Linked DNA regions of Homo sapiens: all the other regions are linked to region 4. Evidence: promoter capture Hi-C in human tissues and cell types (Jung and others, 2019). All regions are on one chromosome and are shown on one strand. Each heading gives the region's core, a stretch centred on a gene start or on the middle of the fragment in contact. The rest is flanking DNA. Distances are from core to core; before and after follow the strand shown. Region 1 overlaps ZNF160 (zinc finger protein 160). Region 2 overlaps ZNF160 (zinc finger protein 160). Region 3 holds the start of COX6B2 (cytochrome c oxidase subunit 6B2). Region 4 holds the start of CNOT3 (CCR4-NOT transcription complex subunit 3). Region 5 holds the start of ISOC2 (isochorismatase domain containing 2). Region 6 holds the start of SBK2 (SH3 domain binding kinase family member 2). Region 7 holds the start of ZNF581 (zinc finger protein 581).

The links. The method cuts DNA at HindIII sites, captures the fragments that hold promoters and counts their contacts. A contact is called where the count stands out against the background at its distance.
Region 1: a fragment that was not itself captured here is called in contact with the fragment with the promoter of CNOT3 in region 4 in 1 of the 25 tissues and cell types used here (dorsolateral prefrontal cortex).
Region 2: a contact is called between a fragment that was not itself captured here and the fragment with the promoter of CNOT3 in region 4, in 1 of the 25 tissues and cell types used here (aorta).
Region 3: the fragment with the promoter of COX6B2 here is called in contact with the fragment with the promoter of CNOT3 in region 4 in 1 of the 25 tissues and cell types used here (spleen).
Region 5: the fragment with the promoter of ISOC2 here is called in contact with the fragment with the promoter of CNOT3 in region 4 in 1 of the 25 tissues and cell types used here (spleen).
Region 6: the fragment with the promoter of SBK2 here is called in contact with the fragment with the promoter of CNOT3 in region 4 in 1 of the 25 tissues and cell types used here (spleen).
Region 7: a contact is called between the fragment with the promoter of ZNF581 here and the fragment with the promoter of CNOT3 in region 4, in 2 of the 25 tissues and cell types used here (dorsolateral prefrontal cortex and liver).

What each region holds. Positions count from the first base shown.
Region 1 is chr19:53,095,381-53,098,080 of GRCh38, reverse strand. All of the region lies in intron 1 of ZNF160 (zinc finger protein 160), which reads left to right. Among named protein-coding and RNA genes, the nearest start is that of ZNF160, 6.7 kb to the left of the region's middle. The HindIII fragment of the contact is 5,693 bases long and covers 1-2,700 here.
Region 2 is chr19:53,073,110-53,075,809 of GRCh38, reverse strand. It overlaps ZNF160 (zinc finger protein 160), which reads left to right. Exons shown (of 6, transcript NM_001322131.2): 4 at 627-753; 5 at 1,542-1,670. Among named protein-coding and RNA genes, the nearest start is that of ZNF160, 29 kb to the left of the region's middle. The HindIII fragment of the contact is 9,128 bases long and covers 1-2,700 here.
Region 3 is chr19:55,353,275-55,355,974 of GRCh38, reverse strand. It overlaps COX6B2 (cytochrome c oxidase subunit 6B2), which reads left to right and starts at 1,256. Exons shown (of 5, transcript NM_144613.5): 1 at 1,256-1,325; 2 at 1,436-1,565; 3 at 2,009-2,109; 4 at 2,201-2,368. The coding sequence starts at 1,454. The coding sequence ends at 2,254. It overlaps GARIN5B (golgi associated RAB2 interactor family member 5B), which reads left to right. Exons shown (of 11, transcript NM_001145402.2): 10 at 630-715; 11 at 880-1,067. The coding sequence ends at 675. RefSeq lists silencers at 1,672-1,721, 1,832-1,941. The HindIII fragment of the contact is 4,590 bases long and covers 703-2,700 here.
Region 4 is chr19:54,136,393-54,139,092 of GRCh38, reverse strand. CNOT3 (CCR4-NOT transcription complex subunit 3) reads right to left here and starts at 1,331. Exons shown (of 18, transcript NM_014516.4): 1 at 1,100-1,331. The HindIII fragment of the contact is 23,783 bases long and covers 1-2,700 here.
Region 5 is chr19:55,460,280-55,462,979 of GRCh38, reverse strand. It overlaps ISOC2 (isochorismatase domain containing 2), which reads left to right and starts at 1,338. Exons shown (of 6, transcript NM_001136201.2): 1 at 1,338-1,468. The HindIII fragment of the contact is 25,257 bases long and covers 1-2,700 here.
Region 6 is chr19:55,535,857-55,538,556 of GRCh38, reverse strand. It overlaps SBK2 (SH3 domain binding kinase family member 2), which reads left to right and starts at 1,424. Exons shown (of 4, transcript NM_001370096.2): 1 at 1,424-1,503; 2 at 2,261-2,515. The coding sequence starts at 2,263. RefSeq lists a silencer at 521-815. The HindIII fragment of the contact is 44,152 bases long and covers 1-2,700 here.
Region 7 is chr19:55,642,327-55,645,026 of GRCh38, reverse strand. ZNF581 (zinc finger protein 581) reads right to left here and starts at 1,378. Exons shown (of 2, transcript NM_016535.4): 1 at 1,253-1,378; 2 at 1-474. The coding sequence starts at 455. ZNF580 (zinc finger protein 580) reads right to left here. Exons shown (of 2, transcript NM_207115.2): 2 at 1,557-2,530. The coding sequence starts at 2,518. The coding sequence ends at 2,000. RefSeq lists silencers at 1-85, 1,176-1,225, 2,170-2,464, 1,996-2,465 and enhancers at 1-444, 1,346-1,565. The HindIII fragment of the contact is 13,132 bases long and covers 1-2,318 here.

The DNA of each region.
Region 1 (2,700 bases), core at 42-2,541, 1.0 Mb after region 4:
CAGATGCTGACACAGAGATTTGCATGCAGGAATTTAATTCGGAAACTCATCATCACAGTGAAGAGGACTGAAGGCAGTGGAATCAGGCAGAGAAAAACATCCCGAAGTGTACTTAGAACCAAGACCTAAGCTGAGCCCAGAGGGAGCTTCAGCAGCAGGAGGATGGGCGCCTTGGCCTGAGGGTGTGGATCCCAGAGCTGCTCCACAGCATCCGCTCCACGGGGTGATTTCTGTGGAGGCTTTGGGAAGTGCAAAAACCATCCTGAAACCCATAGAGGAAAGATAGGAAGAATCTCAGAGATTATTTTCTGGGTTGCCTTTGGCATTCGGGGTATTTTCAGTTGCAGATCAATAAGCTTTCAGTTGTGTTTTGGAAGATGAAATGATCATTTGGAGTGTTTCCTTTCCTGATGTTGGGGTCTAATTGCATCATTAGAGACATCTCTGTTTTATTGGTAGGTTTCAGTGGTATTCCCCTGTGGGGTGGAGTCACTATGAGTGGAAATACGTTGCCCTGGGTCAGTGAGTTCCTGGGGTGTTTGTGTATATTATTCCATGAGTTACTGGGGCTTGTGAGATTTCATAACAGGGCTTCTGGATCTTTATGAAGTATCTGGGGATTGTGGGATCTTTATGAAGTATATGGGGAGTGTGGGAGTTTGTAAGCGTGTCTGAGTCCAGAGGGCAACGGGGATCCTAAGAATCAGGCGCAGATGGCTTTCATTAGGGAGGGTTTGTTGTGGGGGCGTCTGTGGGTGCAACTCAAGAGGGAGTGATTATCAGGGTCCCAGAGTAAGGGAAAGATTTCTCCAAGAATCAGAGTGAAACACAGCACACTGACCTGCGGCCCAAAGGCTTCCACTGGGACTGTCCTTGGGAAGATAAAGCTGCCACATTCTTGCAGCCAGGCCGGTGGCCTCTCCCTGTTTATTCCAAGATAACAGAGTCACAGAGTCACAAGGCAGCTGGGGAGCTGAGGGGCAAGGTCCTTGAAACCCGCTGTGGAACATGGACCTTTCTCCAGTGCAGAGGGGCCACGGGGCCCTGGGAAGGGAGTTGGAGGGTTACAGCCCTGGTCATGGCAGGGAGACGCAGGAACTGGAGGCAGGAAGAGCTGTGTTCATCCCCACAGGGTGCCCCTCCGCTCAGGAATTTGTGCAATAGAATGGGGTGAGCTAATGGGGTCACATTTAGGGAAAGGAGTCTTTCTGTCCACCCAACACACATCTCATCCTATGCACACGCTTCTCCCTTTCCCCGTTGTCCTCTCTATGATGGGAAACTAATGCTTCCCCAGGCGGGTGATTGAGGGAGAGGACGGGTTGGTCTGTTTGTCTCTCTCCTTTCTCCCCTCCCTCAGGTCTCCTGCCTGCCTTTCTGCTGCTCTGTTCAGACTCTCACTTCCTGCAGTTCTGCAGTCAGTTTGCCCCACGCAAGACCCAAGGATCTGGGTCTGTGAATAATATTCAAGCCAACATCATTGCCAAGTGAGAAATCTTAGACCCCAGGACCTTTTTTCCATGGAGGGGCCTGGGCACAGAGACAAACTCTTCTTTTTGCAGAATTTAGGGTCTTTTATTGGCCACGTGGGTCTGCTGAGCCTCAGACAGGGATCCCATAGTCAGCCAGATGTGTTTCTGGGTGGACTTGCGCTTGCCCTTCCACAGGTTGGTAAGCAGAGTGGTCTCCATGAAGGGCCCTTGGCTCTGCCCCTCAGTTAGTCCTGCTCAGCTCCCTTCTCACGAAAAAGACCACCCCAAGGACAAACATGCAGTCCACCCCTGCATACATCAGTCTCCCAAAGTGAAGACCATAAAAATGGCCTAATATTTCATTCATTCATTCAGTTATTTATTTATTTTGAGACGGAGTCTCGTTCTGTCTCCCAGGCTGGAGTGCAGTGGTGCGATCTCAGCTCACTGCAACCTCTGTCTCCTGAGTTCAAGCAATTCTCCTGCCTCACCCTCTGGAGTAGCTGGGACTACAGGCATGTGCCACCACTCCTGGGTCATTTTTTTGTATTTTTAGTAGAGACAGGGTTTTACCATGTTGGTCAGCTGGTCTTGAACTCCTGACTTCATATGATCTGCCCACCTCGGCCTCCCAAAGTGCTGGGATTACAAGCATAAGTCACCGCACCTGACCATATATCATTTCCTTTTAATTATTTACTTATTTAATTTTTACTACACTCCCATTTTAGCAATACTAATATTTCATTTAATGTTGCTATTATTATTTACTGTTATTGAGACAGAAGCTTTGTGTTAGACGCTGATCTCATGTAACGTGACTCTTTTATAATTGTGCTTAGGATTCCACGGGAGATGAGTGAATAAACGACTGAACATTGTGCATAAACAGACAATTTATATATTCATAAGATTAAGACATTTTGTATTCCTCATCCGTTATGCAAAGCAAAGACTAGACACTCTGGAGTCATCTCTCATGAGAACAAACCTGCGGACAGCTGGGAAGCACACCAGCCACCAACTGGGAGTATTAAAAAGAGCAATCCAGTCTCCAAATCAAGGGGAGGGTTCAAATCATAGACAAGCTGCAGAGCCACCGGGTCTCAGAGTTTCCCGCGGAAACGCTGGGACTCGCTACCAATCCCATGAGCGCACCTGGGGATTTTAACGTCTGGTGGGATGGTGGATTCCGAGTGTGGTTGGACAGGGCTGGAGTGCCCTGAAA
Region 2 (2,700 bases), core at 1-2,500, 1.1 Mb after region 4:
ACCCCCTCCTTGAAATTGATTAGTTTGCTTGAGTGGCTCACATAACACAGGGAAACACTTATATTTACCCATTTATTATAGAAGATGCTACAAAGCACACAGATGAACATCTAGATGGAAGTGATCTATTAGTTGAGATATGGGAAAGGAGTGAGGAGCTGGGATGTATTCTCTCATGTATTCTGTCTTTTTTGAGTTTTCATGGAGGCCCCATTATGGAGGCCTTGCTTCCATTATTGGCATTGGTGATCAACTGAACTTTCATTCCCTCTGTCCTCCCGAGAGGACAGAGGCTTAGTCTAACCGAGCCTCAGCCTTTCCAGTGACCACCCACCGAGCCTTAGTTCCGGTGACCGCCCTCCATCCTGAAGCTACCTAGGTGCTCCAGACACCAATTATCCCATTAATGTACAAAAAGATACTTATCACTCCACTGATTTCAAGTGAGCTCTTATGTCAGGAGAGGGGGATGAAGACCAAATCTGTATGTCACATTGTCACAATCTGGATCTGTCAGCTCACCCACTTCAATTTAACCTATTCTCACATTTTTCTCCTCTTCTCCTTTTATGTGAAATTTTGAACTCTCCCCTTAGCCACTTGGTGAAATGTGTTTTTCATTTTAGGTACGGTTGACATTTAGGGATGTGGCCATAGAATTCTCTCAGGAGGAGTGGAAATGCCTGGACCCTGCTCAGAGGATCTTATACAGGGACGTGATGTTGGAGAACTACTGGAACCTTGTTTCTCTGGGTGAGGATGACTTTCTTCCAGAAGTCAAGATCTGTTCTTGTCTATTGTTGCATTTTCCCTTACGAGTCCCTGGAGAGCCCCTGCATTGCTTGACTGAGATTGAAGTCCTGTTGACTCTGAAATGGAAAGCTTAATCATGGGAAACCTGGACTTTAATCTTCCCCTTTCTCAGATGTTCTGCCTCCTTTGTACTTCATCATTTGAGGTTTCAGAGCTTTTGTATGCATAATACATTGTGTTAGACTTTTGAAATGTCAGATTTCCTGTTTTCTACCTCTCTGCTTTGGATTAAGTTGTTGGTGGAATAGAGCCTTCTATCAGCATGTACCATGTTTCCTGGGTATTCAGAAGGAGGCATTCAGTGGATGATTTTTTTTTTTTTTTTTTGAGGCGGAGTCTCGCTCTGTCGCCCGGGCTGGAGTGCAGTGGCGTGATCTAGGCTCCCTGCAAGCTCTGCCTCCCAGGTTCATGCCATTCTCCTGCCTTAGCCTCCCGAGTAGCTGGGACCACAGGCGCCCGCCACCACACCTGGATAATTTTTTTTTATGTTTTTAGTAGAGACAGGGTTTCACCATGTTAGCCATCATGATCTCCATCTCCTGACCTTGTGATCCACCCACCTCAGCTTCCCAAAATGCTGGGATTACAGGCATGAGCCACCGCGCCTGGCCCAGTGGATGAATTTTTGAAGTTTTCTTAGATCCACATATAATGTCCTCTCATGTAAACATAGGGCTGGGATTCTGGAAAAGCCCCGGCACATTGTGATCCTTTCTTTTTATAAACAGGACTGTGTCATTTTGATATGAATATTATCTCCATGTTGGAGGAAGGGAAAGAGCCCTGGACTGTGAAGAGCTGTGTGAAAATAGCAAGAAAACCAAGAACGCCGGAATGTGTCAAAGGCGTGGTCACAGGTAAGAGCTCAGATGGGCAGAGAGAAGGCCACTCATTAACTAGAGTGTGGGAGGGGGCACAGTAGCTCACGCCTGTAATCTCAACACTTAGGGAGGCCAAGGTGGGCAGATCACTTGAGGTCAGGAGTTCGAGACCAGCCTGACCAACATTGTGAAACCCTATCTCTACTAAAAATACAAAAAAAAATTAGCCGGGCATGGTGGCGTGTGCCTGTAGTCCCAGCTACTCAGGAGGCTGAGGCAAGAGAATTGCTTGAACCCGGGAGGTGGAGGTTGCAGTGAGCCAAGATCATGCCACTGCACTCCAGCCTGGGTGGACAGAACAAAACTCCGTCTCAAAATAAATAAATAAATAAAGTGGGAAACTCTCTGCAGATGAGAGAGTTCTTTGGGAAAATAAGTTGCCTTAGAGATAGAGGCAAAGTCTTTATCATGATGGACAACACCCTGTCATTTGAACTCTATGGTTCCTTCTGAAGAAACTGCTTTCTTTCTTGGTCTCTCCCTCTGTATTTAATTCCATATGGTGCTCAGTTCTTAGTCCATATGGGTCAGAGGGGAAGCCTCCATAGTCCTTAGTCCTGACGTCTAGACCTGTTTATGTTCCACCCCATTTCCTGTGCGTGGAAGACCTGCTCAGGAGATGGAAACATTGGCTGCTGCTCCTTGGCATCTGCTGCCCCAAACCTCATGGAAGAGTCTCCAGCCGTCTCCGCCTGTCGAGGTCCCTCGGCCATTTCTTCCATTCTGCTTTTGCCACTTTCATGGGGGTGTGTGATAAGCGAGTGGGTTCTATCTTCTAAGATTGTTCTCAGCATAACCGTAAAGACACCTAACAAAATCCTTCTGTCATTGATCCTCAGTCTTACATGGGGTGCGTATTCTGTTTTTCCAGGCTTCAGCACAGAAATACAAGTACTGCATGTTGTCACTTACATTTGGAATCTAAACCAATAAAACTAATAGCAGCAAAGAGTAGAATGTGGGTTACCACAGGTTGGGGACTGGAGGGAATAGGGAGATGTTGGTC
Region 3 (2,700 bases), core at 7-2,506, 1.2 Mb before region 4:
TCACATGTTGCCCAGACTGAAGTGCAGTGATGCCATCACAGCTCACTGCAGCCTCAAGCTACCCAGGCTCAGGTGATTCTCCTGCCTCAGCCTCCTCAGTAGCTGGAACCACAGGCACGCACCAACACGCCTGGCTAATTTTGGTATTTTTTGTAGAGATGGGGTTTCACCATGTTGTCCAGGCTAGTCTCAGACTCCTGGACTCAAGCAATCCTCCCGCCTCTGCCCCACAAAATGCTAGGATTACAGGCATGAGCCACCGCACCTGGCCGGGATTCTTAATTCGTACATTTGGCTGTCAGTGTAAACAATCCTGAGTCAGGCCTGATATTAACCAGGCAGGAGGGAGAGAAGCTTAGCAGGGATCTAGAGGTGAAACCACCTGCCCAGATTCCAGTTACTTGTCTGCCCCTAGAGCCAAGACTCATTGATTCCGCCTCGGATTTATTGTGCATTTACTACTGCCAGACTCTGCCCCAGGCAGATACAACAGTGAGCCAAACACACAGCAAGACCCGCCCTGGGGGACGCTCTCCTAAGCCAGGCATCTGCAGCTCTTAAAGCCCTGGGTACCCCTCTCTCCCTACCCTGTCCCCCAAAGCTCTCTCTGGCTTGCTTTCTCCCTGCAGCCTGCAGCACTCCCAGCACTCCGAGTGGCCGGATGCGGGGGCTTAACCTCAGTTGGAAACTGTCCAGAGGAGCCCAGCGCTGCCAGGTACCCTTTAAGACCCTGGAGATCTGCCTTAGACCTGGGGGCGGGGGGAGGGGGGCGAGGGAGGAGGGTGGGGGGGGCGGGTAACGGAGGGGGGAGGACGAGGGGGGCGGGGGGGTTCCCAGGAGCCCGGACCCCACCGCTGCTCTTTCCTCTTAACCCCACAGGCCCCGAGGGTTCTGTGCGCACCGACTGTAGGAAGCGGAATGTTGAAAGCCGCTTGGGGGGATTTGCCCCCTCTGGTAGATACCAGAACTATGGATATGCCTTTATATATTGGGGGGCGGGGGGGGGCGGGGGCGAGCCCGTGGAGCCGCCCAACTTCGCAGAGATTAAAGCTTGAGCCTGAGACTCAGCGAGTCGCACCTCGGTGCCTGTGTGCACGCGCAGGCCCCCGAGGGGGCGTCGGGGGAGCAAGGGGTGGGGTGGGGGCGCCCCTACCAGCCCCGCGGTGCACGACGGCTCCCATTGGCTGGGGCTCGGGCGTCCTAGCCAATCCGGCCGCGGGGTGCGTTTCTCCTGACCCGGGTGGGACCGCACCCCGCGGACTCAGAAGCGAGCGGCACCCCGGGACCATCCCACAGCAGATCCAGTGGCCGCCAACGTCAGGCTGGTGAGGGCACGACGGGTGGGGTTCAGGGGCGGGGGTCAGGATGGGGAGACGGGTCGGAGCGAGGGCGCCCCCTCGGCCCCACGGAGTCCCCGTCCCGTCCCGTCTCGCAGGAGTTGCCTCCTTCGTGGATGTTGGATGTGGAAGCCCAGGAGCCCCCCAAGGGGAAATGGTCGACGCCGCCCTTCGACCCGCGCTTCCCCAGCCAGAACCAGATCCGTAACTGCTACCAGAACTTCCTGGGTGAGACCTGCTCAGCCAGGTTATGGGAGGAGCAGGGTGTGACAAGGGACGGCAGGGAGGGGCACTCCCACCCTAAGTCCCGCGGAGACCGTTAGGGTGGGAGGCCGGGCGGGGCCGGGTTGGTGGGGGCGGGGCCTGGTCGAGAAAAGGCGGGGCTGAGCCTGGAGGGGCGGGGCGAGGTTGGTAGGGGCGAGGCCTGATCTGGAAGGTGCGGGGCCGAGTCGTGAAGGTGCGGGGCGAGGTAGGTAGGGGCAGGGTCTGGGTAGGAGGAGCAGTGTGAGGGAGGTAGGGGTCGGGGCCTGGCTGGGAGGGGCGGGACGGAGGCCTCCAGGGGAGAGGGAGGCGGGACGAAGCAGCGAAGAACTGGGAGGGCCCGAGCAGTGGAGGGGCGGGTCCTGTCCTGGAATGGGCGTGGCTTGCCGCGTGACCCCCGCCCGCCACAGACTACCACCGCTGCCTCAAGACCAGGACCCGCCGCGGGAAGAGCACGCAGCCCTGCGAGTACTATTTCCGCGTGTACCACTCGCTGTGCCCCATCAGCTGGGTGAGTCGGCAGAGGGGGCGCCGGGCCAGGCGTGTGCAGGGCTCGGCCGAGGCTGAGCCGGCGTCCCGCTCCCTGCCTTTCTGCTTCCCAGGTGGAGAGCTGGAACGAGCAGATCAAGAACGGGATTTTCGCCGGCAAAATCTGACTGCCCCAGCGCGGCTTCCTCTGAAGATGCAGTGATCCTGCATCTTTTTGTCTCGCGGAGCCCCGGGTCTCGGTTATCCACCCCTACCTCCCAGTGTCTAAGCCACGAATAATGGTATGCTGTTGCTGATGTTTCTTCTTAATGCCCAGCCAGCGATGCGTCGTGGTGGTGGTGGGGATCCTCCGTGTGCCTGTGTCCGGGCTAACGCTGCTTTTTCCGATAAGGGGCAGGTGGGGGACTGCTGCTCCATCAGGTAGCAGCAGGCAGTCAAGGCCCTAAGACAGGAAGCCGAATGCCTCCCGTCCCCCTTCTCCCTCTCCATTCCAGCAGGTAGATGCCTCGCGTTGACAGCTACGAGCCAGCCCAGGGTCCCCAGTTCTCAACACTGTCCCACCCAGATGGCTCCAAGGTGCTCCTGCCTCCAATCACCACACCTACCTCTCACC
Region 4 (2,700 bases), core at 82-2,581:
GAGCTCACTAACATGGACAGCGTGGCGGCTTAGTGTCTTTCACCAGGCACCTGAGCGCCAGGGGATCCCAGCAGCCCCCAGCAACAAGACCACAGTGGTCCTGATATCACTGGGAGACGCCCACACCCAGAAGGTCGGAGAGTCACGATGCAGGGGAGTTCAAGGCTGCAAAGCCAGGGGCAGACGCCAGGATCAAAGAAGTGTGAGAGCTGAGACCAGACGTGGGCCACACTGAGGACGGTCCTGTACCCCAGGTGGGGGAAAGCCAAACTCCCCCAAAAAGGCAGGCGCCCAGTGCAGCGGGATGGCGAGGCTGGAGCCACCCAGGGCGCTACTCGCTATGAGAGGGAAGAGCTGCAGACTACAGAGGTGGAAACTTCGGCAAAGGCTCCAACTAACGGGGAGTTTCTCCTCCACTCCTCTCCCAAGAGGCTCCCATCCGATACAGACGGGCAGCTGGAACCTGAGATCCAGGGGAGGCTGCGCTCCCGGGAGCAGTGAGGAGGGATGCGGAGGGCGGCCTCGGTCCTGGGAAGGGTGACTCCCCCACCCAGCTGGGGTCCTCGTCCCGACCACCACCCCCCCTCCCCGCCACCGTCGAGGGAGAAGCCCCGGCGCGGAGGCTGCCCCACAACGCGAAGGACCGAGGCCGAGGGGGGCAGGCACCTGAGCCCCGAGAGGGCGGGCACCTGGGACCAGGGGCGCCTCCATCCTTCCAGCCAGGAGCCAATACCGACGCGGAGAGGGGCGGGCACCTCGCGCCCGGGAGGCTTCGCACCCTCACACCCCTACCGGGGGGCCCGACGCGATGCCACGCGGGGAGGCGGCGGCGGGCGGGGCCCGGGGTCCGGGTCGCGGAAGGACCCCCGGGAGGCGCTGAGGAACGTGAAAGAGGCGCAGGAACGGGAGGGCGAGAGGGAGGGAGCCGCCCCCCGCCGGGAGCCCCGCGCTGCAGAGGCGGCGGCAGGGGGCAGGCGAGGGGAGGCCATGTCGCGACAGACGGCGGTGTCGCCAGGGCGGGAGGCGGCGGGGAGGGCGGCCGATGGCGCCGGGGGGAGGAAGGGAAGGGGTCCGGCCCAGTCGAGCCTGACGCTCTCACCACAGGAGCTGGCGCCGCCGCTGAGGAGCGTATCGCGACAGGCGGGGGAGGCGAGCGCCCGCCGCCTTTTTCTCGCGCCCCGGGCCCGGGCGCTATCGCGATAGCGGCGCGAAGCGGAAGTGGGGTTGGGGGAGTGGGCCCGGGGTTGTTCTGACGACGGGGGTCGGGGCTCAAGGGAGGCCGCGGCGTCTGCCGATGGCTCCGCGGAAGCTGACCGGGCCCGGTCCAAGATGGCGGCGGCGGAGGAGGCCTCCCCTCCTCTCTTCTCGTCTCTGGCGCCGACCCGCCCCCGAGTCCCGAATATAGGCCAGTCATTGCTCCCGCTGAACGTCGCTCCTGACCCTTGGAGGCTTTCTATTGGTTCCTGGCAGGGATGCGCCCTGCCCCCTTTCGCGGATTGGGTGATCGCTCCAAGGCGCGGCGTTCGATTGGCCTCCCGCGCAGGCTGCTAGGATTGGCTCAGGTTTTCCTCCCCGCTCCTCCTCCTCCTCCCGCCTCAGGGCACAACACGCCAGCGCGAGGACCCGAACGTCAATCAAGAGACCTGTGTCGTGCTGATTGGATGTATCCGCCCCCCTCTCTTAAAACAATTGGTCTGGGGGAGGAGCTACGACAGTCCAGGGGCGGGAAGTCGTCCGTCAAGTTTAGAGCTCTTTTTAATTGGTTGCGGGGGCATATTCTGCCTTGAAGTCATTGGTTGGTCCTGGAAGTGGGTGGGGAAAGCGGAGGAAGGCATGGAGTGTGGGCGTTAGGGGCCGCGTACCTAATGGGAGACAGACAGGTGCCTTTAAAGCGGGGGCCGAGCCGAAGTCATCTGCCAATCAAAACAGCCACAGGGCCAAGTGGGAGGAGCTGGGCAAGAAAGTCCACCCCTTTTTCTTCGTTGGCCCTAAAAGTTATCATTCATGCTAGTTGGACCAATAGCGTGGCGAGTGGGCGGTAGCTGCTCGTAGAGCGTGTGAAAGAGGGTGTATGTAGCTGGCAGAAGTGGGACTTGGTCGCAACCGTTGCGTCCCGGCCAGGTAAGCAGCTTCCCTCTCAGCTGCCTCGTCTTTCTCCAAGTGCCTCTATGTTGGCACATCTCTGAAATTCATTATTTGCTGAGTGAAAGAAGAAAGGGACCAGAGACACTGCTTTAAGTCTCTGGCACCGTGCATAGCAGAATTGGTTGGGAAGCGTGAGGCATGGAGTTTTTGTCCTGCCCCTGCCTGGTTAGGCGACCAGATGGTGGGACAGTCATTCTCCTCTGCGTCTCCGCTTCCTTAGTGTGTTGAGGACGCTGCAGAAGGTACAGAGGAGACGGGTGGCTCCCTAATGCCTGCTCGTTTCAGGTCTCAGCTCTGTTGTCTTCTTGGAGAGAAAACTTCCCTGACCTCCCTCCCGGGCGGAGCGCTCCTGCGCGCCTTGTTCGTTAGGATTTATTTTTGTACGTCTACCGTCATTTTCGTAATTATTCGGTTTCCCTGTCTGGATTTTGCATCTCCAGCACTTAGCACGCAGGAAGTAGTCAGTAACCATTTGTCAAAGGAATAGATGAATGAATGTGAGGAATGACTTGTGATTGAAAACTTAACTAGACACTGAGACTTCCACGAACTGGG
Region 5 (2,700 bases), core at 89-2,588, 1.3 Mb before region 4:
TTTCCAATTCAGATTGGAGTTAGTGCTGAAAAGAAAATAAAACACAAGGCCGGGTGCGGCGGCTCACACCTGTAATCGCAGCACTCTGGGAGGCCAAGGCAGGCGGATCACTTGAGCCCAGGAGTTCAAAACCAGCCTGGGCAACAGAGTGAGACCTCCATCTTTACAAAAAAATTAAAAAATTAGTCAGGTGTGGTGGCGCATACCTGTGGTCCCAGCTACTCAGGAGGCTGAGGTGGGAGGATCGCTTGAGCCCGGGAGGTTGAGGCTGCAGCAAGCTGTGATCGTACCATGGTACTCCAGCCTGGGTGATAGAGCAATTTTTTTCTTTTTTTTGATGTTTCAAAAAAATTAAAAACAGCGACCTGATGGAAGGGCTACCTGACACCAGGTGGTCAGGAAAGGCTTTGAAAGCCTGGAAGGTTGGGCCATGGGGAGTCCTAGGATTCCAGGCTGAGGCAGCACACGTGCAAAGGCCCTGCGGTGGGACATTGAGGGAAGAGCAAGAGGAGACCCCTGTGGCTGGAGCGGAGTGAGCAGGGGGAGTGGTGAGAGGCGAGGTCTGCACGGACCAGGAAGGCCGACCATGAATTGGGAGGAGTTTGGATTTATTCCAAGACAGATAGGAAATTCTCTCTTTCTCTCAACCTCCATTTCCAAGCACAGAGTCTAAATTATTCTAAACACCACCCGAGGAGGCAGGTGCTGTACAGATGGGGAAACTGAGGCAGCACAGAGCGCAAAGGACAGGGGGGCGTCAAATTCCTCACTTGATCGCTCCCTCAGCCAGCCCCTTCCTGGAAAGTGCTTGGGTATCTTTGTAAGCCTCCGTTTCTTGAGAGAGGGCCAGGTTTCGAACCGCAGACATGCCTCTACTCTAGGTAAGACCCCTCTCTCTCTCTCCCGGCCTCGGCGGTCTGCTCTGTGCAATGGGGCCGGCCGAGACGCCCTCTCTCCAGCCAGAGTCTGAGCCTTCGGAGACCACCGCGCGACTCCGCCCCGTCGGCCGCCACTCACGCCCTCTACGGCTCTCCATTGGCAGAACGACCTGCTGCCCCGCCCCCACGGCGCCTTTGCGAGCTAATCATTTTCTTGAGACTGACAGCCTTGCCGGCACCGCCCCCCCTGGGGCGGGAGCAAAGCAGCTGCATATGCGGATTGGTTGAGAGGCAGGGGGCGGGGTGAGTTGGTGAGCGCCGATTGCGGGCAGAGGCAGTGGCACATGCGGATTGGCCGGAGAGAGCGGCGAGGCAGAGCATGATGAGTGTCGATTGGACGGCTGGGCCCAAGTGGGCGGAAAACGGACGGTGCAGGGGGTGGGCCACGTGTCCAGCCCTAACGAAACGGTAACCAGCCCTGGGAAGCCCGCAAGAGGCCTCAGCGGTGGCCGTCCGAGAGCCGAGAGGTGAGGGTGCCCCCGCCTCACCTGCAGAGGGGCCGTTCCGGGCTCGAACCCGGCACCTTCCGGGTAAGTCCTCTCTCGCTGCTGGCGCTATTTGGAGACCGACCTTACCGCCTAGCAGATGGGGAAACTGAGGCTCTGCCTGGGCGTCCCGGGCCAAGGTCACAGGACCAGAAGGAGGACTCCACCTGGCCCCGCCAGAATTGGCTGGCCAGAGATTGGAAGCGTCCCCGGGTCGCGCCTGCCGCCTCTGTAACAGCGCTGGGGGGTGGGCAGGTTTAATCCCCATTTCTCCGACGAGAAAACTGAGGCTAAGACAAAGAGAAACTTGCCCAAGGTCACACAGCCAGGAAGTCCGGGCTCCAAGGCCGGGTTTCCGAGACCGGGTGGGGAAATCAACGGCCCTACCCCGCCCCCTGTTGCCGCCCACCTCCAGCCACGCCCCCTTTGGCCTTGGGTACCCTCCACCCAGGCTGAATCTCTCCTCGTTCCGCAGGACACGCCCAACCCTCTCCAGCCCAGACCTCCCCTTCACATCTCTCTCTCTCACACACCCACCCTCACCCCAATTTTTCATCTCCCAAAAACCAGTTCCCCTCCCCGGGATCCCCTATGAATCTTCAGATCATGCCCCTCGCTCGACCAGAAACTGGGGGCCTTTCTCCCCGACTTTCCCCACCGTCCCAGCTGCCCCTTCCTGACTCTCCCCTGTCCCACTGGGCCCCAGCGCCGACCTCCTGCTCTCTGGCCTTTTGCCTCCAGTTCAACCGCACGGCGGGGGCCTGAAGCCATCTTTGTATTTTGCATTTTGAACACTTTTTCTGGAATAATACCACAAACGCAGAAAATCGAACGGTTTGCAAATACACAGCTTAAATAAATATTTATAAAGGGAGCACCCTGGTGTAAACAAGTATCCAAAGAAAAAAGTCAAACATGCGCCACATCCCAGGATCTCCCGCCGTCGTCGTTTCCATCACTGTGGTCCAAGGGCAGTCACTGTCCTGGCTTCTGACGCCATAGATCAGTTTTGCCGGGTTTTGGCTTTATGCCAACCCTTTATTGTATATAGTATTGACTAGACAACTTGTTGCACATTGTCCAGAATTCAGAAGAAACAGAATAGGACCCAGTGAAAAGGCTCCTACAGACTTCCCCGGTGCCTGGTTCACCCGCCTGAGTCTCCCGTTTCTTGCTTGTTTGCCAGAGATAGCAGATATAGATATAGGCAACACAGACACATTTTCCTCTCCCTTTTTTCTTTGGCACAAAAAGGAGCATTCCATACACACTGTTCT
Region 6 (2,700 bases), core at 175-2,674, 1.4 Mb before region 4:
ACTGCACTCCAGTCTGGGTGACAGAGCGAGATTCCGTCTCAAAAAGCAAAAAAAAAAAAAAAAAAAAGAAATAAAAAACCCTGAAGGGTGGGTGCAACCGTCCCAGAAAAAAACAGGGGTCTGAAGTCCCACTGTGGCCCAAGGCTTGGGGACTTCCTAGTGGGGCTTAATCTCCCTGTGCTTACAGCAGGGAGGCACTCACTGGCCTGTATTCCTGTTATGCGCTTTCAAACTATTTTTATTGTTATTCCTCTCTTTGGAATCAGGAGCCCTCAGGCCCTCCTCCCTCAGACCCAGGAGTCCAGGTCCTCAACCCCCTCCTCCCTCAGGCCCAGGAGTCCAGGTCCTCAACCCCCTCCACCCTCAGGCCCAGGAGTCCGGGTCCTCAACCCCCTCCTCCCTCAGACCTAGGAGTCCAGGTCCTCAACCCCCTCCTCCATCAGGCCCAGGAGTCCGGGTCCCGTGTAGAAAATGAAATCATTTCTGGAACCCACCCCTGCCTTGACCCCACCCAGCTGCCCCATCAATGCCCCATTGACAGGTCAGACACAAGTGCTTGGAGAGGGGTGTCCAGGGGATCAGATGCTGGGGTCTAGTTTGGGGAAAGAATGAGACAATGAGATTCCAGAACGATGCAGTGTGGGATGACCTCAGACTCAGAGGGGCGGGAAGCAGGTGCTGGAGCAACTGGGAAGAGAGGCCTTGAGGGGGTGGGGAGGCCTCAGTTCTGCCGGAAAACTTCAGATGGGTGGGGGAGGCTGAGGCCTGGACTCCTGGGTCTGAGGGAGGAGGGACTGGGGCCTGGACTCCTGGGTCTGAGGGAGGAGGGGCTGGGGCCTGGACTCCTGGGTCTGAGGGAGGAGGGGCTGGGGGTCTGGACTCCTAGGTCTGAGGGAGGAGGGGCTGGAGACCTGAATTCCTGGGTCTGAGGGAGGAGGGGCTGGAGACCTAGACTCCTGGGTCTGAGGGAGGAGGGGCTGGGGTCTAGACTCCTGGGTCTGAGGGAGGAGGCACTGGGGGACTGGATTCCTGGGTCTGAGGGAGGGAAAGCTGGGGGCCTGGATTCCTGGGTCTGAGGGAAGAAGAGCTGGGGGCCTGGACTCCTGGGTCTGAGGGAGGAGGGGCTGGGGCCTGGACTCCTGGGTCTGAGGGAGGAGGCACTGGGAGACTGGATTCCTGGGTCTGAGGGAGGAGGCGCTGGGGGCCTGGACTCCTGAGTCTGAGGGAGGAGGAGGGGCTGGGGCCTGGACTCCTGGGTCTGAAGGAGGAGGGCTCAACTCTTGGGTCAGGGTATTCACCTGACCACAGCCAGTTCCAGGAGTCATCACACGATGTCGCTCTGCTCCCAGTGGGGGCAGAAGGGGCGGGCCCAGGGGCGGGGCCTTACGACCCCCAAAGTCGGGGCGGGGTCTTGCTCCTAGGCAGGCCTCTGCTGGCATGAGCCCTAAGTGCCGGGCACTGACCACAGCCGGCGGCCGGAGGGTCAGGAGGGCCTTGGAGGAGGTGAGGTCTGGAGGTCTGAGCCCAGGTTGGGAGGTGGGCAAGGTGCCCTGGCCTGAGGTGGGCAGCACCTGAGGGTGACTGTACCAGGTGGCCCGAGTCCTCGGTCCCTCAGGGGAGCCTGGGCTGCACCTGGAGGCTGTAGAGCGGTGGAGGGTGAGGGAAACAGAATCAGGGGGTCCCCAGTTGTGTGAATTGTATGAGGTTCCGGGAGAGAGGTGGGCTGGGGGCCTGGACCCCTGGGCCTGGCGGAGGAGGGGCTGGGGGGCTGGGTCGGAGGGAGGTGGGTGGGCTGTGAAAGTGGGACCCCAGGCCTGTCAGGAGCTTGGGGACTGATCCCAAGTGCTCGGTCCCATGCAGGACCCAGGCGTCCCAGGCCCTCTGCACAGCCCGCCCTCCCAGCCCTGAGCCCAAGAGCACCTGTTTGTTCTCAGGAGACAGAGTCTACTCATCCACCCCCAGGGCCCAAGTCTGTTTGCTTTGGAAACAAGATGGGGGAGTCTCAGTTATCTGGTTCATCTTTCAACCTCAGGGTGGGCGGGTGGCGGCGGCGGCACGCGGGCAGGGACATCTGTGACCTGGGGCTTGAACTCACACCAGACTTGTCTCCCCACCTCTCACCAAGAGGGAGACTGAGTCACAATGAGAAGCGCGATGAGCCCCCAGCCCCTCCTCCCTCAGACCCAGGAGTCCAGACCCCCAGTCCCCTCCTCCCTTGGGCCTGGGACCTGAGCCTGGGCACCCCTCTCTGTTCTCGCAGAGATGCCCGGCAAACAGTCTGAGGAAGGGCCGGCGGAGGCAGGGGCTTCGGAGGACAGCGAGGAGGAGGGTCTGGGCGGCCTGACATTAGAGGAGCTCCAGCAGGGCCAGGAGGCTGCCCGCGCGCTGGAGGACATGATGACGCTGAGTGCTCAGACCCTGGTCCGAGCCGAGGTGGACGAGCTCTACGAGGAAGTGCGTCCCCTGGGCCAGGGTTGCTATGGCCGCGTCCTTCTGGTCACCCATCGTCAGAAAGGTACGAGGCTGTGGGGCCAGAGGTGGCAGGGTTCAGCTGGGGGCGGGGCACGGGCCTGGGGTAGCCCAGGCTGGGGAGGCTGGCAGGCCTGAATCAAGTCTTACCTCTGCCCTCCAAAGCTGTGTGTTTTTTGTTTTTTGTTCTTTTGGTTGGTTGGTTGTTTTTGAGACAGTCTGGCTCTGCCG
Region 7 (2,700 bases), core at 129-2,628, 1.5 Mb before region 4:
CGAGGGCAGAGCGGGCAGCCGTGGGGCCGCCCACCACCCGCCAGGTGAATGGAATGGTGCCGTGCCAAGTGGCTGGCGCGCTTGAATGCCTTCCCACAGATGTCACACTCGAAGGGCTTTACCTCCGAGTGGGTGATGCTGTGTCGCTGAAGGTAGGACATGTACTCGAAGACCCTTGAGCACACGGGGCAGCTGTAGCACTTTTTCTGGCCTGGAGCCCCACTGGCCCCTGGCTCCCTCTGTGACTCCTCGTCCACCAGCACTGTGTAGGGGACACCCTGAGTGTCAATAAGCAGGTAGTGGTTGGGCCTTGGAGGAGATGAAGCCTGGGGAGATCCGATGGAGGAGGAAGGTCCAGGTTCTGGGGAGCGGCAAGTCCGACGGGGAGGGCCCTCCATGGTCTCAACGGAGGAAAATGCCAGAGGCTGAGGGCAGGGGGATGGCAGCACCAGCATCCGGAGGGCTGGCTGAGGCCTGGTGGATGGGAGATGGGATAAGAAGGTTATATAGAAGAGGGCAGCTCAGCACCACAGGCTCCATCCTTTTCCCTCCCTATACCCGGCCCAGGACCTCTGCATCCTGCTGCCCCTCAGTCCCTCTTTTCCAGTCCCGCTCACAGCTGGAGTCTGTGGCCCCCTAAAAGGTCCCCAGGGTCTTCCTCCTTGGAAAACCTCTCCTAGCCTCGGTGCTCCACCATACACTGTACTCACAGGATCTCTTGACCTCCTCTGCACAACCTGGACCTCGCTCTAACCTTCCTCTTTGTGCCCTCCCAGGTCACTGGGTGCCCCACCCCGCAGGCCTCCAGGCCTCTCCCTCCCCTCCTTCTAGCCCTTTCCAGGGTCTGCGTGTTGGCCTATGCTACATACTCAAGCCTTTCCTGACCCCCTCCATACAAGCCAAGCCTATTCACAGGGGCTCCGACGTTAGGACCCCCAGGTTCCGGCCCTCTCTCCAGCCACGTGTCTGAACAACTCCGTGCTCCCACCCGTCCACCCACCTCAGGTTCTCTCTAGTCCTCGCCCGGCCTCCACCAGGCTCGTTCTAGGTCCCAGCGCTCTCCGGGGTTCCACCCCCGGGGCCGCAGCCCTCGCTTTCTGGGCCTTTCTGTGTAAGTTCTCGCCCCCTCCAAGCTCCAGAACAGCCCCCTCCGGCGTCTGCCCCACTCCCGCCCCGGCCCAGGTACCCTCCACGCGGTCCAGCCCCTCCCGCCGCCCGCCCCCAGCCCCCTTCCTCCTCCCGGCCCCCGTACCCAGTGCAGCAGCCTCTCAGGTCCGGGCGACTCCAAGCGGCCCCGGGCTACCCTCGCAGTTGCAGGCGGCGGCGAGAAGGGGACCTCTGGGTGTGCCCCAGGAACTGGCGGCGCCGGCCGAAAGAGAGAAGCCGAAGGGAGAGAAGAGGGTCTAGGGAAGGAAGGTTGGGGCGGGGCGCCCGGGCCGTCGCGAAACGGCTCCGGCCAGAAACACACACCGAGAGGAAAGTACCCAAGCGAGGAAGATCCGGTCTCCACCCCCCAGCACCCAACGTGCACGCACACGCAAGGAAGAGCCTGAAAATGGAGTGCGGAATGTTTATTGAGCAAAGGGTCGGGGGCGTGGGCGGAAGGGGGGTAGATACAGAAATGAACCAGACCGTGCCCGTGCTCTTTATCATCTCTTCCCCGCAGACAACCACCGGTTCACCGCTCCAGAGAGCAGAAAACCAAGGTTTAGAGAGGTCATGTCACTTGCACAGGCTCACACAGCACAGCTGGACTGGAACCCAGTTCCGACTGGTTCCCAGGCCCAGGGAGGGGCAACGACTTTGGTCTACATCACACAGCTAGAAAGGGGGTAAGGAAGGAATGATGCTCCTCCCTTTGGAAGGTGGGGAAACTGAGGCCCAGGGTAAGGCAGTAACCTCAGCAGAGCCAGGGGGTGTGTGTGGGAGTGAGTGACGCTGTGTGGGTCAGACTTGGTGGCCCTGAGACGGGCAGGGCAGCACAGGCCGGGTCTCGAGCTTAGTGGAGGCGCACGTGCTGCGCCAGCTCCGCGGCGTCCTGGAAGCGGCGTGGGCAGAGCGGGCAGGTGTGCGGCGGCCCGGCGCGGGCGCGGTGCGTGGCGCGATGCCGCGACAGGTGGCTGGAGCGCTTGAAGGCCTTGCCGCAGGCGCCGCACGTGAAGGGCTTGAGGTCCGAGTGCGACACGCGGTGGCTCTGCAGCCGCAGAGGGCTGGCAAAGACACGGGCGCACTCCGGGCAGCTGTAGCCCTTGCGAGGGCCGGGCTCTCCTGGGGGCGCCTCGCGCTGGGGCGGGCCCCGGGGCTCCTCCTCCAGCTGCACCGTGTATGTGTAGGGGACCCCATTGGCGTCGATGAGGAGGTGGCGGCCCAGCCGCGGGGGTCGGGGCCCCGCCGCCGAGGAAGGAGTGGAGGAGGGGCCTTCCGCCTTGGGGAAAGGGGGAGCCTTGGGGGGCGGTGGGTCCATGGCCTCCGGAGAGGAGGACCGAGGGTGGGGTGGCCGCGGCGGCAGCAGCAGCATCTGGAGCGGCAGCTGGGAGCGGCGGAGGGGAGATTAGTTAAAATTGCCACTTCCTTTTAGGAAAAGTTTCCTAAAATGGAAAGCATCCCCACTATCACTGCTTGTTACCCTTTGTGCGCCACTGACTACCTCCCTAGCAAAATAAAAACTGTGACTCCAGCCCGGCTCTCCCACGTTCCATC